Linked DNA regions of Homo sapiens: region 2 is linked to region 1. Evidence: promoter capture Hi-C in human tissues and cell types (Jung and others, 2019). All regions are on one chromosome and are shown on one strand. Each heading gives the region's core, a stretch centred on a gene start or on the middle of the fragment in contact. The rest is flanking DNA. Distances are from core to core; before and after follow the strand shown. Region 1 holds the start of ZNF287 (zinc finger protein 287). Region 2 has its middle 7.8 kb from the start of CCDC144A.

Evidence for each region. The method cuts DNA at HindIII sites, captures the fragments that hold promoters and counts their contacts. A contact is called where the count stands out against the background at its distance.
Region 2: a contact is called between a fragment that was not itself captured here and the fragment with the promoter of ZNF287 in region 1, in 5 of the 25 tissues and cell types used here (H1 embryonic stem cells, dorsolateral prefrontal cortex, liver and 2 more).

Annotation. Positions count from the first base shown.
Region 1 is chr17:16,564,078-16,571,521 of GRCh38, reverse strand. It overlaps ZNF287 (zinc finger protein 287), which reads left to right and starts at 2,318. Exons shown (of 6, transcript NM_020653.4): 1 at 2,318-2,570; 2 at 3,593-4,193; 3 at 4,900-4,997. The coding sequence starts at 3,791. RefSeq lists enhancers at 2,254-2,753, 2,754-3,255. The HindIII fragment of the contact is 5,740 bases long and covers 1-4,698 here.
Region 2 is chr17:16,678,925-16,685,959 of GRCh38, reverse strand. It overlaps a transcript of CCDC144A not described here and the pseudogene RNASEH1P2. Among named protein-coding and RNA genes, the nearest start is that of CCDC144A, 7.8 kb to the left of the region's middle. The HindIII fragment of the contact is 7,976 bases long and covers 1-6,546 here.

The DNA.
Region 1 (7,444 bases), core at 1,069-3,568:
CTTGTGAGAGGCAGCCCCCTGCAGTTAGGACAACTCCCAAGGAAGTATTTTGCTGTGAGCCATCAGCAGCCACTCACCCGGCAGCTGCTGGGATGGATGCCTCAACCCTGAAGGAGGATCCTGGCAGCACCACAGTGTGCACTATAGGGCGTATTAAGTTTCCAGCTTTGGTTGTTGGTTTATGTTTTCCTCCCTACAGGTATGTCAGCTATTGCTTTGTATGTTTTGAGGCCTTAGTGTTAGGGACATGCTGTATATTTATGATAAATATATCTTTTCCATCAAGCACTCTTATTTATTCCCTTTTAATCTTCTCAAATTCTAGCTTATCAGATATTAGAATTATTACTTGTATCAGTCAGGGTTCAATCAAAAAAGCGGAACCAGTAGATATTTAAGATACTTGTGGCAAAGAGTTGGCTTACTCGATTGAGGGGGTGACCAGGTGAGTCCAAAGTCCATAAGAGCACCCCATCAGGAAGGGCAGGCTGGAAGCTGTGGTACGCTGATGGAGTTTCTTCTCCATCAGGGAAACTTCGGTTCTTTTTTGAAAGCTTTTAACTGATTGAATCAGGCCCACCCAAATTATCTAGGATAATCTCCCATGCTACTTAGTCCAACTGGGTTTATGGGCTTCAATCTCATCTACAAAATGCCTTTACAGCAACACCTAGATTCGTGTTTACTTAAATAGCAAGAGACTGTAGCCTAGCCAAGTTGACACATCAAAAGACCATCACACTCCCCAAGTTTGTTTTTTTTTTTTTTTGAGATGGAGTCTTGCTCGTGTCGCCCAGGCTGGAGTACATGGAGTGCAGTGGCAAAATCTCAGCTCATTGCAACCTCCGCTTCCCAGGTTCAAGTGATTCTCCTGCCTCAGCCTCTTGAGTAGCTGGGATTACAGGCGTGCGCCACCACACCAGGCTAATTTTTGTTCTTTTAGTAGAGACGGAGTTTCACCATGTTGGCCAGGCTGGTCTCAAACTCCTGACCTCAGGTGATCTACCTGCCTGGGCCTCCCAAAGTGCTGGAATTACAGGCGTGAGCCACCGCGCCCGGTCCAACTTTCTTTTTGTTAAAATTTTCCTGGTGTGGTGATATTAAGAGTCTTTGACAGTCCTCCTCCACCCTCACAGGATTCTGCCTCCATTTGATTCTCTGTAGGCTTGTGATTGCTTTGACCAAGAGTCTGACAGAATTGGTGTTAGGTGACTTCCAAGGCCATGTTATAATTGGCCATGGCGCTTCTCTCTTGTTCACTGGAATGCTCACTCTTGGAGCCCAGAGCCACCATGTAACAAGTCCAGCTGCCCTCAGTCCTTTATGCTGGAGAGACCACATTGAGGCACTCTGGTCAAACACAAGCCGAGTTCATCTTTTAGCCCATCTCCTCCCAAGCAGTAGACATGTGAGTGGAAAAGCCATCTTGGAAGCGGGCCCTCCCAGCCATCAAATCATCCCAACAGAGGCTACAGACATAATGAGGCAAAGGCCCACCCACTCAGTTCCCCTTTCAAATTCCTCACCATGAAATTTATGAGCATAATACGGTGATTGTCCTTCAAAACCACTAAGTTTTGGGGTGGTTTGTTAATAGAACAGTAGATAACGGGAACACCTTGAATATGTTTTTCTATGCTTTTATTTTTCCAGTGTTTTATGTATTTTTGTTTTGTGTCTCTTAGAAATAACAGCTACTCGGGAGGCTGAACCCAGGAAGTTCAAGTGAGAATCACTTGAACACAGGAGAATCACTTGAACCCAGGAGGCGGAGGTTGCAGTGAGCCGAGCTCGCACCATTGCACTCCAGCCTGGGCGACAGAGCGAGACTCCGTCTCAAAAGAAAAAAAAGAAAGAAAGAAAGAACATGGGTTTTTTTCCCCCAATCTGAGAGTCTCAGAATCAAATTCCTGAGGAGGAAGTGAAAACCTTTCACAGTTAGTATGTATGCACAGTAAAGCCCGAAACCGCACATTAAGTCTTTCTGCCTTTAGACCCACATCTTCCCTGCCCATTCTTCCTCTAGGAAATCTGGCGCCCAGTTTTCTCTGCGTAGTTGGCGCGGGGCTTCAACTCCCGGCGCTCCTCCAGCTACTGGCACCTCCCTGGCCTCCAAGACGTCTACCAGACCTGCGTCTGCCCGGGGAAACTTTGAAGTTCCCTTCGGAACCTCGCAGGCTGACAAGCAAGTCAGAGCGATGGGTGGAGGAGGTTGCCATGGAGACAGGTCCAGGGCCAGAGGCGCGGGAGGGGGAGGCGGCAGCTTGGGCTCCGATTGGCTCTGCGGGCGCGCAGCGTTCCTCTGGCGCACATGCGCAGTGACGCCGAGGCGAGGTCGCGGCTAAGCAGAGGCGCCGGGGTTTCTGGGCCGGGCTTCTCAGGACCGGGCTGGAACGTGCAGCTCCTGGCCGGGACACTCTGTGCTTTGCGGGGAAGGGAAGTGGCGGAGCCCGAGGATCCGCTGCCGCTCGGGACTGAGCCCGCCACGCAGGCGCCTGTGCCAGCGTCGCCATTGTTGCCTGTGGCCTTAGGGCCGCTCCGGCTGCCCGTCGGCCGGGTCCCAGCGACAGGTATTGATGTCCGGGCGCAGCGCGCGAGTGTCCGCGCGATCAGTGACAGCCCGAGCCCGTCCACGCGCGGGCTCCCGTGCTCGTGGCTTGCGGGAGGGCAAAGACGGGGTGGAGGCTGCTGTGGGCCCAGTCCCAGCGTTGCGCGTCGCACGGTCCCCGACTCCCCCGCTGCCCTCGACCTCGACCCTGCGGCTGAAGAGGAGTAAGAGGCAGAGGGACTTGGCCGGGAAGGGGAGGCGACAGGAGGCAAGGCAAGGCTGTCGCATCACCTCCGCAGGGCCTTGTAAACAGTTGTCTTTGGTGGCACGACTGTGCCTCAGCAGGGCTCGGAGCTGGAGCCTGGGGAGAGGTGGTGTCGGTTCTCCTCCAGATCAGGCCGGTTCTAAGGTTTCCTTCGAGAATCCTGGTTTCGAATATATCCCTAAAGAACTGTCTCCTATAGAAGCACTTAAAGGACTTGAAGTCACACCAACCTCTTCACTCTTTTCCAGTCCAACCCGCTGGTCTTCCCAACCCTCTGATAGTGAAAGGCTAGAATCGGCTGGCATTAACATGCAACGCAGATAAATGGCTCGCCCTTTCCCCTGACAGTTCCCTTGGGAACCTTGAGCACTGTATTAAGAAGAAATTCTCCTAGTTTCTTCCAAGTAACAGATTCACTTTGTTATTGTTGAGAGTCCGTTCAGTCATTACAGCTTCTGTAACATCAGTGACTAAAATAATGAAACTATTTTCTCTATAAAAATGTTTAATTTTTGTTACAACAGGTTAGAGGTTTAATCTGTTGTTTGGCTTAGATTCGAGTCATTGCCTCTGACACTACCTTTTTAATAGCAGCTCCATCCCCCACCAACCCCAAGCAGATGGCAGTTCCCTTACAAGTCTAAGGATATAGGGGAGGAAGACAAGGTAAAGCTTATGTGTGTTCATCTATGCACACTGCGAGTCTGTTTCTGTGTGTGTATATGTATAGTAGAGTACACCAGGGATTCTTGACCTTGTGGTCCATGCTTGTGTTTCAGGGTCTCTTATCCATCCCTGCAAGTTCTGGGCTCAGAATTTGTCACTAAGGCTGCTAACTCTACCTTGATTCTGTTCTGCCCTCGGCTGCAGCAGCCTTTGATATAGTGTCCTTGTGACTCTAGCATGAGACTTCAAGCAGTTGGCTCACTACTGGAGAAATAAAGGATATTGCCAGATTGACTCTCCTGTCTGTAGCAATGTTAGCCTCAAGCAAGAGGATGAACAGTTCTTCACGTTCTCAAATCCTTCTAAGGTGGAAGTCAGACAAGGCTCAGAGTGGACCCTACAATGTTGAGAAGGAAATCCTTACTTCAAGATTCTTGCGTGACACTGAGACCTGTCGACAGAATTTTAGGAATTTTCCATACCCAGACCTGGCTGGTCCTCGAAAGGCATTGAGTCAACTCCGAGAGCTCTGCCTTAAGTGGCTGAGACCTGAGATTCACTCAAAGGAACAAATTTTGGAGCTGCTGGTGCTGGAGCAATTCCTGACCATCCTGCCTGGTGAGGTTAGGACTTGGGTAAAGTCCCAGTATCCAGAGAGCAGCGAGGAAGCAGTGACTCTGGTGGAGGATTTGACTCAGATTCTAGAAGAGGAAGGTGAGAATCATAGAGCAGAGAGGGGAGGAATCCCTGGGTGGTTAAAGAAGACAACTAGCACATCTGAGCAGCTCCTTTAAAGAAATCAGGGAGAGCACTGAGAGGTCCAGGATGCATTTTTTAAAAAGAAAGAAACTGGGGAGAACAAAGGTTAGTGAGTGAGAACAAGGCTTTAACATGAGCTCCATCCTGCATGGTGTTCTCCTTCCAGATTGCTTGGGAGCAAACACACATTATCTAAACCCCCAAGAAAAACGTCTTGAAATAATGACCAGACGCAACCAAATTACCACTGTGTGAGCCCTCAGAAAGTACCTTCAGAGGTTTGCACCATTCTACTAATAAATCATTTGCTTTGTGAATTGAATTTTACAATAAAATACTTCCAAAAAAGGAAGAAAGGGTCTAGAGAACATTCCCTTATTAAGAGATAACTCACAAAATTAATATCACATAAGGATTTAGTTAAAATGTGAATTTTGTTCATACTCTTTAAGATTTTTAGAGCGAGCTTGTTTTTGAAGTCTGTTTTGATGTCTTAGGACAAGTCATTGGCCCTTTCCTCTGATGCTTTGAAGTAGGAGTGCTGTTTTTGATTTCCTTCTTACTTCTCGATTTAAGAAAGTGTAGGCATCTATTTGGTGAGGGGTTTCCTAGGCTATTCAGAAAGGACTAATCTCCCTCATGACCTCTTTCTCTTCTCTAGCTCCTCAAAACTCTACCCTTTCCCAAGATACCCCAGAGGAAGACCCCAGAGGAAAACATGCTTTCCAGACAGGATGGCTAAATGACTTGGTGACCAAAGTGAGTGTGACTGTCTTTTCTGATTTTAAAATGCCTTCTTAGTGTGTGAGGACATTTTCTGACCTGGCCCTATAACTACTGTGCCCCCAGAAGCTCTATCAAGGACTTAAGCCCCAGTTTCTCTCCTATGTTATCTTGGTCTGTTAAGGTAGGTGAATGTACTATAAAGAAAAGGTGCTTCCATTGCCTTCCCTTGATATGTCTTTCCTTACTTTGACTTTGTCAGCAATATCACATAGAGAATACGAGATTGACCTCCACAGCCAGATGGATTTAGGTTTTGTTTCCCGGCTCTACCATTGGAACTGCAATTTGGGACAAGATACTTAACCTCTCTTAGCCTGAGTTATTCTACTCTCATAAATAGAATTTACCTCTTAGGTTGTGAGTATTAAATATTATGAGACTTGTAGTTAGCCTGGATTACAGTTAAGCAATTAATAGATGATTGTTACTATTATTTTTCCTCATTAACAAGTAGTTAAAGGCCATGCATTCTGTCATATTACTGTTGGTCATGAATTTATATATATTTTTTGAGACAGAGTCGCACTCTGTTGCCCAGGCTGGAGTGCAGTGGTGCGATCTTGGTCCACGGCAGCCTCCACCTCCTGGGTTCAAGTGATTCTCATGCCACAGCCTCTGGAGTAGCTGGGGTTACAGGTGCATGCCACCATGCCTGGCTAATTTTTGTATTTTTAGTAGAGACAGGGTTTCGCCATGTTGCTCATGCTGGTCTTGAACTCCTGACCTCAGGTGATCCACCCGTGTTGGCCTCCCAAAGTGCTGGGATTACATGTGTGAGCCACCGCGCCCGGCCATGAGTCTATATTATTTTAAAGAATAGTAACTCAAGATACCTTAAGAGAAAGATTTACTGTAAAAATATAACTGGTTTTTCTGAAATTGGAAAGCTTTTGGTAACCAAGTTAAAATGATTATTCATTGATAGTGTGAACATTTACCTGGAAAGCCTAACAAAATCAAGGGAAAAAGTGTTAGAAACACTAATAGAAAAATTGGATAAAATGACTACAGAAAATGACATGCAAAAATCAATCACTTACATATATATACTTATATATATATCTACATATATACATATAAAAATGAGATAAATGATAAAATGAAAAAAATGCCTCCAGTATCACACCCCCGAAAAAAATTTAAAATATCTAAAACTAAGCATAATATAAATATTGCAGTACTTTCATGTCTAATATTTTGTAGAACATGAAAGAAACCTTGAATATTATAAAGTCATCAGTTCTCCCTAAGTTATAAACTTAATACAATTTTTAAATCCCAGTATGATTTAAAAGAAAAGATTTTTTAAGAGATGGGATCTCACTATGTGCCCAGGCTGGTCTTAAACTTCTGGCCTCAAAGTGATCCTCCTGCCTTGGCTTCCCAAAGTGCTGGGATTACAGGTATGAGCCACTGCGCCTGGCCTCCAATATGACTTTTTTAAAGATACTGACAATTATATGAAAAAATAAACACGTGGCCAGGCGCAGTGGCTCACACCTGTCATCCTATCACTTTGGGAGGCCAAGGCAGCTGCATCACCTGAGGTCAGGAGTTTGGAGACCAGCCTGGCCAACATGGCAAAACCCTGTCTCTACTAAAAATACAAAAATTAGCTGGGCATGGTGGCGTGCACCTGTAATCCCAGCTACTCAGGAGGCCACTGCACTCCAGCCTGGGCGACAGAGCAAGACTCTTTCTCAAATAAAAAAAGAGAAAAAAGAAACATGTAAGATAATACTATATTTTTAACAAAAGGAGCAAACAAGAAAAGCACTAACCTTACCAGATTGTGAAATGTATTTAACAGTGCAGCAGTTCAACACTGTGATTATTGGTATCTGTTATATTTTTAAAAAGAAAGACTGAATTTAACCATAGAACACATAAAAATATCTTAACATTTTAATTATAACATGTTGGATTTATTCTTAAAGCACAGCTTGAAAAGCAAAACCATTCAACTGTGTCATCTGTGTTTAAAATTTAAAACTCAAGTCAGGCCTGGTGGATCACTCCTGTAATCCCAACACTTTGGGGAGCTGAGGTGAAGGATCGCTTGAGTTCAGGAGTTTGAGACCAGCCTGGGTGGCATAGCAAAACCCCATCTCTACAAAAAAAAATTAAAAATTAGCCAGATGTGGTGGTGTGTGCCTGTAGTCCTAGCTACTCAGGAGGGTGAGGTGAGAGGATCACTTCTGCCCAGGAGTTTGAGGCTGCAGTGAACAATGATTGTACCATCGCACTCCAGTCCAGGTGACCAGGCAAGACCCTGTCTCTTTTAAAAATAATGATAATAAACCTTTTCCTTTTAAAAATGGAGCTGCCAGCAATGCATGCACTAGTCCAGCACAGGCAACAGAGCGAGACTCTGTCTCTTTTAAAAATAGTAATGATAAACCTTTTCTGTTTAAAATGGA
Region 2 (7,035 bases), core at 1,309-3,808, 110 kb before region 1:
AAATACAAAAAAAAAAAAAAAATAGCCAGATGTGGTGGTGGGCGCCTGTAATTCCAGCTACTTGGGAGGCTGAGGCAGCAGAATCACTTAAACAAAGGAGGCGGAGGTTGCAGTGAGCTGAGACGGCACCATTCCACTCCCGCCTGGGCAATAAGAATGAAACTCCGTCTCAAAATAAATAAGTAAAAATAAAAATAAAAAACAGAACCAATCACAGAAAACACTCCCACTCCCCCCGTAAAATCAGGAACAAGGCAAGGATTCCCTTTTTCATTTGTCCTATTTAAAACTGTACTGGACTGTAATCCCAGCACTTTGGGAGGCCGAGGCAGGTGGATCACCTGAGGTCAGGAGTTCAAGACCGGCCTGGCAAACATGTTGAAACTCCGTCTCTACTAAAAATACAAAAAAATTAGCCAGGCGTGGTAGCAGGTACCTGTAATCCCAGTTACTCAGGAGGCTGAGGCAGGAGAATCACTTGAACCCAGGAGGCGGAGTTTGCAGTGAGCCGAGACCACGCCATTTGCACTCCAGTCTGGGTGACAGAGCAAGACTATCTCAAAAACAAAACCAAAAACAACAACAACAAAAAACGGCGTTGGAAGTTCTAGCTAGTGCAAAAAGGCATGGAAAAGAAATAAATGACATAAAACAAATGTAATCCCAGCACTTTGAGAGGCCAAGGCAGGTGGATTGTTTGAGGTCAAGAGTTCAAGACCAGCCTGGGTAACATGACAAAACCCCATCGCTACCAAAAACACAAAAACCAGCCAGGTGTGGTGGCATATGCCCGCAATCCCAGATACTTGGGAGGCTGAGGCATGAGAATCACTTGAACCCAGAAGGCAGAGGTTGCAATGAGATCACGCCATAGCCTGGGGTGACAGAGTAAGACCTGTCTCAAAAACCAAACCAAACCAAACCAAAAAAATGTATTACTTGTATGATAAGGAAAAGAATCAAATGCATGTACATGGGTGGGTTTGTTTTGTTTTTTTGTGACAGGGTCTCGCTCTGTCGCCCAGGCTAGAGTGCAGTGGTACAATCTTGGCTCACTGCAACCTCGACCTCCCCAGCTCAAGTCATCCTCCCACCTCAGCGTCCTGAGTAACTAGACTACAGGCATGCACCACTACACCTGGCTAATTTTTTATTTTTTCTAGAAACAGAGTCTCACCATGTTAACCAGGCTGGTCTCAAACTTCTCGGCTGAAGTAGTCAGCTCATTTGGGCCTCCTAAATTGCTGGGTTACAGATGTGGACCACTGAGCCCAGTCTCAAATTTTTTTTTTTTTTTTTAGATGGAGTCTTAGAGTCTCATATCGTTGCTCAGGCTGGAGTGCACTGGCGTGATCTCAGCTCACTGCAACTTCAGCCTCCCAGGTCAAGTGATTCTCCTGCCTCAGGCTCCCGAGTAGCTGGGACCACAGGCGCACACCACCACGCCTGGCTAATTTTTGTACTCTTTAATAGAGATGGGGCTTCACCATACTGGCCAGGCTGGTCTTGAACTCCTGACCCCGTGATCCATCCACCTCAGCCTCCCAAAGTGCTGGGACTACAGGCGTGAGCCACCGCGCCCAGCCTCAAATATGTTTTAATATATATTATGATATTAACTTCATGGAAATTGTTATGTCATTAAACCACTTACATAAACCATTAATCTCTAGTAAACTTAGCTTATTTGGTCACAATAGCCATGGGACATGAACATTTAAGATACTCGCCCACTGAATGTCCATCCCCTGGGTCAGCCTCTCCAGTGCCACGAAGTCCTCTTTGTTGATCACCTCTTTCCCTGCACTTGTCTTCCACCCATTTTTCTTCCAACCTTGAACCCAGTTAGTTATACCATTTATCGTAAACATACTGTCTGTATACAGAACCAGTTTATTGATTTTCTGAGTCTGTGCTTGTTCAATGGCCTTGCAGGCTGCATGAATTTCCGCTCTTTGGTTTGTCTGCCACCCAGGAAGTCTAATGCCTACAGTTAAAGGATAGCCCGGCCCCCAGTAAACGCGGATTCCTGCTCGTGGCTTTCTACGCCCATTACTGGAGCAGCAGCCATCAGCGTAGACGACGACGAAGTCTCCCATGTAGGAAAACGTGTCTCTGCTAACTGGAGGCGCCGGCTTCACGCTCGGCTTCACGCTCGGCTTCACGCTCGGCTTCATGTGCTTGCATATGGCTCTGCGCTTTCATCTCCATCTCCATCCAGTGGCTCACGGAGTCGCTTGCTGGCTTTCGTCTCCGATTCTTGTCCATGTTGATTTTCCTGCCCTTCTGAAACTTCCGGGCTTGCAGATTTCCTGACAAAGTCCCAGGCCTCATCCTCTGTGGCAAACTTCTTAAATCTGGCAGCAGGAAACCGGTCCACCTGTGCTTTGCACTCATTCCCGGTCAGAAAGACCGCGGACTTGCCGCCCCTCCTCACGGCATAGAACATCCCGAACCCGCGAGAGCGGCGGCAGGGCAAGGCGGCCAAGGCGACTCTGCCGCCAGGGACAGAAGCCGGCTCATCGCTCACTCCCGGCACCAGGAAGCATTTTGACTCCCAAGAACCACTAATTTTACAAAGAGAGTTGTCCTAAACTGTGACAAGTTTTCCAGTACTTAATTCTTTTTACAATTCATTCGTTTTTTAAATGACAAATAAAATTGTATATATGTTGTGTAAAACCTGTTTAGAAATAGGTAGATGGTGGAATGATTACATTGCGCTCAGGAACATATGCATACTTACTTTTTGTGGTGAGAACCCTTCTTGATTTTCAAGAATACAATACATTAACTGCAGTCACCATGTTGTGCAATGTATCTCTTAAACTTATTCCTCCTGTCTAACTACACTTTTGAATGATTTCACCGTCTCCCCAAACCCCTGCCTTCCACCCCTGGTAACCTCCATTCTACTCTCTGCTTCTGTGAGTAGAAGCAGGAGGCTGGAGAATTGCTTGAACTCAGGAGGCAGAGGTTGCAGTGAGCTGAGATCGAGCCGCTGCACTCCAGCCTGCGTTACAGAGCAAGACTCTGTCTCAAAAAAAAAAAAAAAAAAAAAAAAAAAAAAAAAAAACAGAGAATCCAGAGATCAGACATTCCTTTTAGTAAGGACTCCAATATGGTTTCTCACCTACTCACTACAACAAAATTGCTCTTCTCAAAGCACAAACGATAGTCATATTGTTAAATTATGAATTAAAGCATAATTCCTCAGCCTTTGTCTTAATTTATGTATCAGCAGCATTTGACACAGGTGATCTGTCCTTTTTGCAAAACTTTCTTTGATAGAATTCCAGAACACTTAACCCACTTTCCCCTGACATTTTTTATAATTACCCCTAGTCCTTTTTTGCTGTTTTTTTCTCACCTTTACTATTTTTTAAATGTTAGAGAAGCACTAGGCTCAGGACCTGGACTTATCTTTCTTTTATTTACTTTCTTACTAATTTTTGTGTCATTAATTTCCTGATATTTCATATTATACCTCAACACTAGACTACACCCAGCACCGTCTGACTTCTTCACTTGGGTGTCAGTCAGGAATCTCAAAATGAAGGTCCACATGGAGCCTCCAATACTCCCCAGACTTGCTCTTCCCCTATCTGTTTAATGGCAACTCCCATTTTATAGTTTCTCAGCTCAATATTCTTGATATCCCCTTTTAGTTCTCTCTGTATCTGTCTGGTTCTCATTCTCTCTCTCTCTGTCTCTCCATCTCACACACACACACACACACACACACACACACACACACCCATTTTCAGATCTGTCGTGTATGGAAAACCTGCCAGCTTTGCCTTTAAAGTGCAGTAATTCCAAATGGTGTTTTCAAATTCACCTTCCCACCCTCACCACTTGGTAACTACACTACTTCCCTCACACGGTCAGGGCTCTACTGCAGACATTTCTTGGGGGAAATAATGAGAACTATTATAAATTCTTATTTCAGGCACCCTCAAAATTATAGGCTAGCCATATTCTATATGAATTTAAGCTTTTATCATTGCCCTTTTTTTCATTCCAGTCTCTACACAGCAACCACAGTATGCAATTTTTTAGAATTCCAAGCCGTATCATAACACACTTTTTTTTTTTTTGAGACGGAGTTTGGTTCTTGTTACCCAGGCTGGAGTGTAGTGGCGCAATCTGGGATCACCGCAACCTCCACATCCCAGGTTCAAGCAATTCTCCTGCCTCAGCCTCCCGAGTGGCTGGATTATAGGCGTGCGCCACCACACCCGGCTAATTTTTTGTATTTTTAGTAGAGACGGGGTTTCTCCATGTTGGCCAGACTGGTCTCGAACTCCCAACTTCAGGTGATCCACCTGCTTCAGCCTCCCAAAAGTGCTGGGATTACAGGCGTGAGCCACCATGCCCGGCCAACGCTCCTGTTTTAAAGTACCTGCGCTATTACTTCTTTTCTCCCTCATTAGAATTTAAGCTTAACAAACCTGGGTAACTTTACATACTTTTCCACTGATCTGTCTCCATGAGCTGGAGATCACTTAGTGTAAGGTAAATGATCAATAAATGTTTTCAAATAACAGAATCAATTATTAATAGTTTTCTTTCTTTGAGTATACATTTAGACTTTCAAAAATCAAGAAAATAGATTGGTCAAGAGATTTCCATTTGTTTTGATTTTGTTATCCATTGATTAGATTAGCTGTGTTAGTATAGATTTCAGTGTGGGAAGCTGTAAGCATTTCCTAAATTTTAAAATGAAAGGCATGGGATTTAAATATCCATTCCTTTTATTTAAGGAATAAAAAAAGACAAGCCTAGCTTTTAAAATATATTTTATATATGTAAACTATCTAAATTTATTTTTCTCTTTATCCCTGAATACTTTTTCAAGTTATTCATCTCATTTTTAAAAATCTACCTCGATAACATTTTAAAATATATATGCAACTTCATTAAGAATATCTTTGTTCCACTGAATGGCTTGTCAAATAATACATTAGCAGTACAATTTCCTCATGATTCTTAGACTGGTTTGATTAAATTTATAGATTTCCTACTCTCAACTCATAAATTCATTCAAGTATAATACATCCTACTTGATCTTTGTGGGGTTTTCATACCATATAGTTATTATTAAAATTGATTTTTGATATTTGAATCAACTTCATAATTGTATTGTTGGTTAGATTGGTCGGTAGAATCCTTTTTTGTTTTGGTTCTGTTGTTTGTTCATTACAGAGTGGCTTTGCTACTGTAGAGCTTGAAACATTTTTTTTTTGTTTTATTTCCTTCCTTTTTTCTTCCTTCTTTCTCTCTCTCTCTGTCTCTCCCTCCCCCACTCCCTCCCTCCCTTTCTTCCTTCCTTCCCTCATTCCTTCCTTCCTTTTTCTTTATTTCTCTCTCTCTCTTTCTCTCTTTCTTTCTCTCTCTCTCTTTCTTTCTTTCTTCAGGTTTTGCTCTGTTGCCCAGGCTGGAGTGCAGTGGTGTTAACAAGACTCACTTAAATTTTTTTTAACAGAAATTTATCTATCTTACATCAACCAAATTTCAGTGTAACCAATATTTCTTTTAAGTGAAAAATTAAATCTTTACCATCTGTTAGCCTCAACACTTTACCTTCTGCAGCCTCAATTTTTCTGTCTCCAGCAATCCTCCCATCTCAGCCTCTTAAGTAACTGGGACTACAGGTAGTGCCACCATGCCTGGCCAATTTTTGTAATTTTTTGGAGAGATGGGGTTCACCATGTTGCCCAGGCTGGTCTCGAATGCCTGGACTTAAGTGATCCTCCCACCTCGGCCTCCCAAAGTGCTGGGATTATAGGCATGAGCCACCATGCCCAGCCAAAAGGTTGGAACATTTTCTAAATTGGAAAACAAAGCGCATGGCATTTAAATACTTATTCCTTAAAATTTGGAAGACATGTTAACACCATATAAACCCAGAGCCTGTATTTTTAGATTAGTAATATGTAGATATTTTCAATTTCTTCTAAAGTTTAAAAAAAATAAATATTTTGTATTCAGAGAATTCTTTATAACAGAAGGTAAACATTTTTCACTTAAAAGAAATGTGATTACTTTGAAAAGAAATTTGGTTAATGTAAGTTAGATTAATTTTTGTTTAAAAAATAATTTAAGAAAAATAATGCTCAAAGAGCAGTGGTCATGGCATTTATTCCAGAGAGAGGAAGTTTAGCCTGATCTGCCTGTAACAACAAAAGTACATGGATCAAGATAATTCTATAGGGACATAGATTAAAAGATAACATACTTTTTTATTTTAAAAACCATGATAACTTTTTTTACATGTATTAAATGTGAGAGAACAAACAGCATAAAAAATGAACTTTTGGGGGGATATAAACAAGTACTGAGAACAGTGTGAAGAATAAAATTCTCATCCTGGCTTGGTGTGGGCAGAACCTCACAGCCCGAGAACAAGTCCAGTGTGTGGTGGTGTTAAGGCCCCTCTGTGTAAAAGCTGTCCTCATTTACCGAGAATTGAGGTCTCAGGAAAAAAAAAAAATTACTAACCTCAACACGAAATGATTGGTTCATCATTTGATATACCCTGTGCCTTTATAACATATACAATTGTGTTGTCATTCTATAAGGTTTATCATTTGTTACATTTAAAACCAGAATAATTTCAAATTTGAAGTGAAATAAGTCCCTTAGAGAAACAAATTTCAAAATACACCCCCTACCTATCCATATCTATATCATCTATGTCTGTGTTAGGCCATTTTTATATTGCAAAAAGCAAAAACATCCTTCTAGGCCTTCTAAATTTTATAGGATAACACAAACATTGATGCAATGGTGATAGACAAAGATGGAGAAAATCACTTGAGGCCAGGAGTTCAAGACCAGCTTGGGCAACAAAGTGAGACCCCCCCCCGCCATCTCTACAAAAACAACAACAAAAAAAGACAATGCAGGGCGCAGTGGCTCACGCCTGTAATCCCAGCATTTTGGAAGGCCGAGGCGGGCGGATCACCTGACGTTGGGAGTTTGAGACCAGCCTGACCAACATGGAGAAACCCGCCCTCTACTAAAAATACA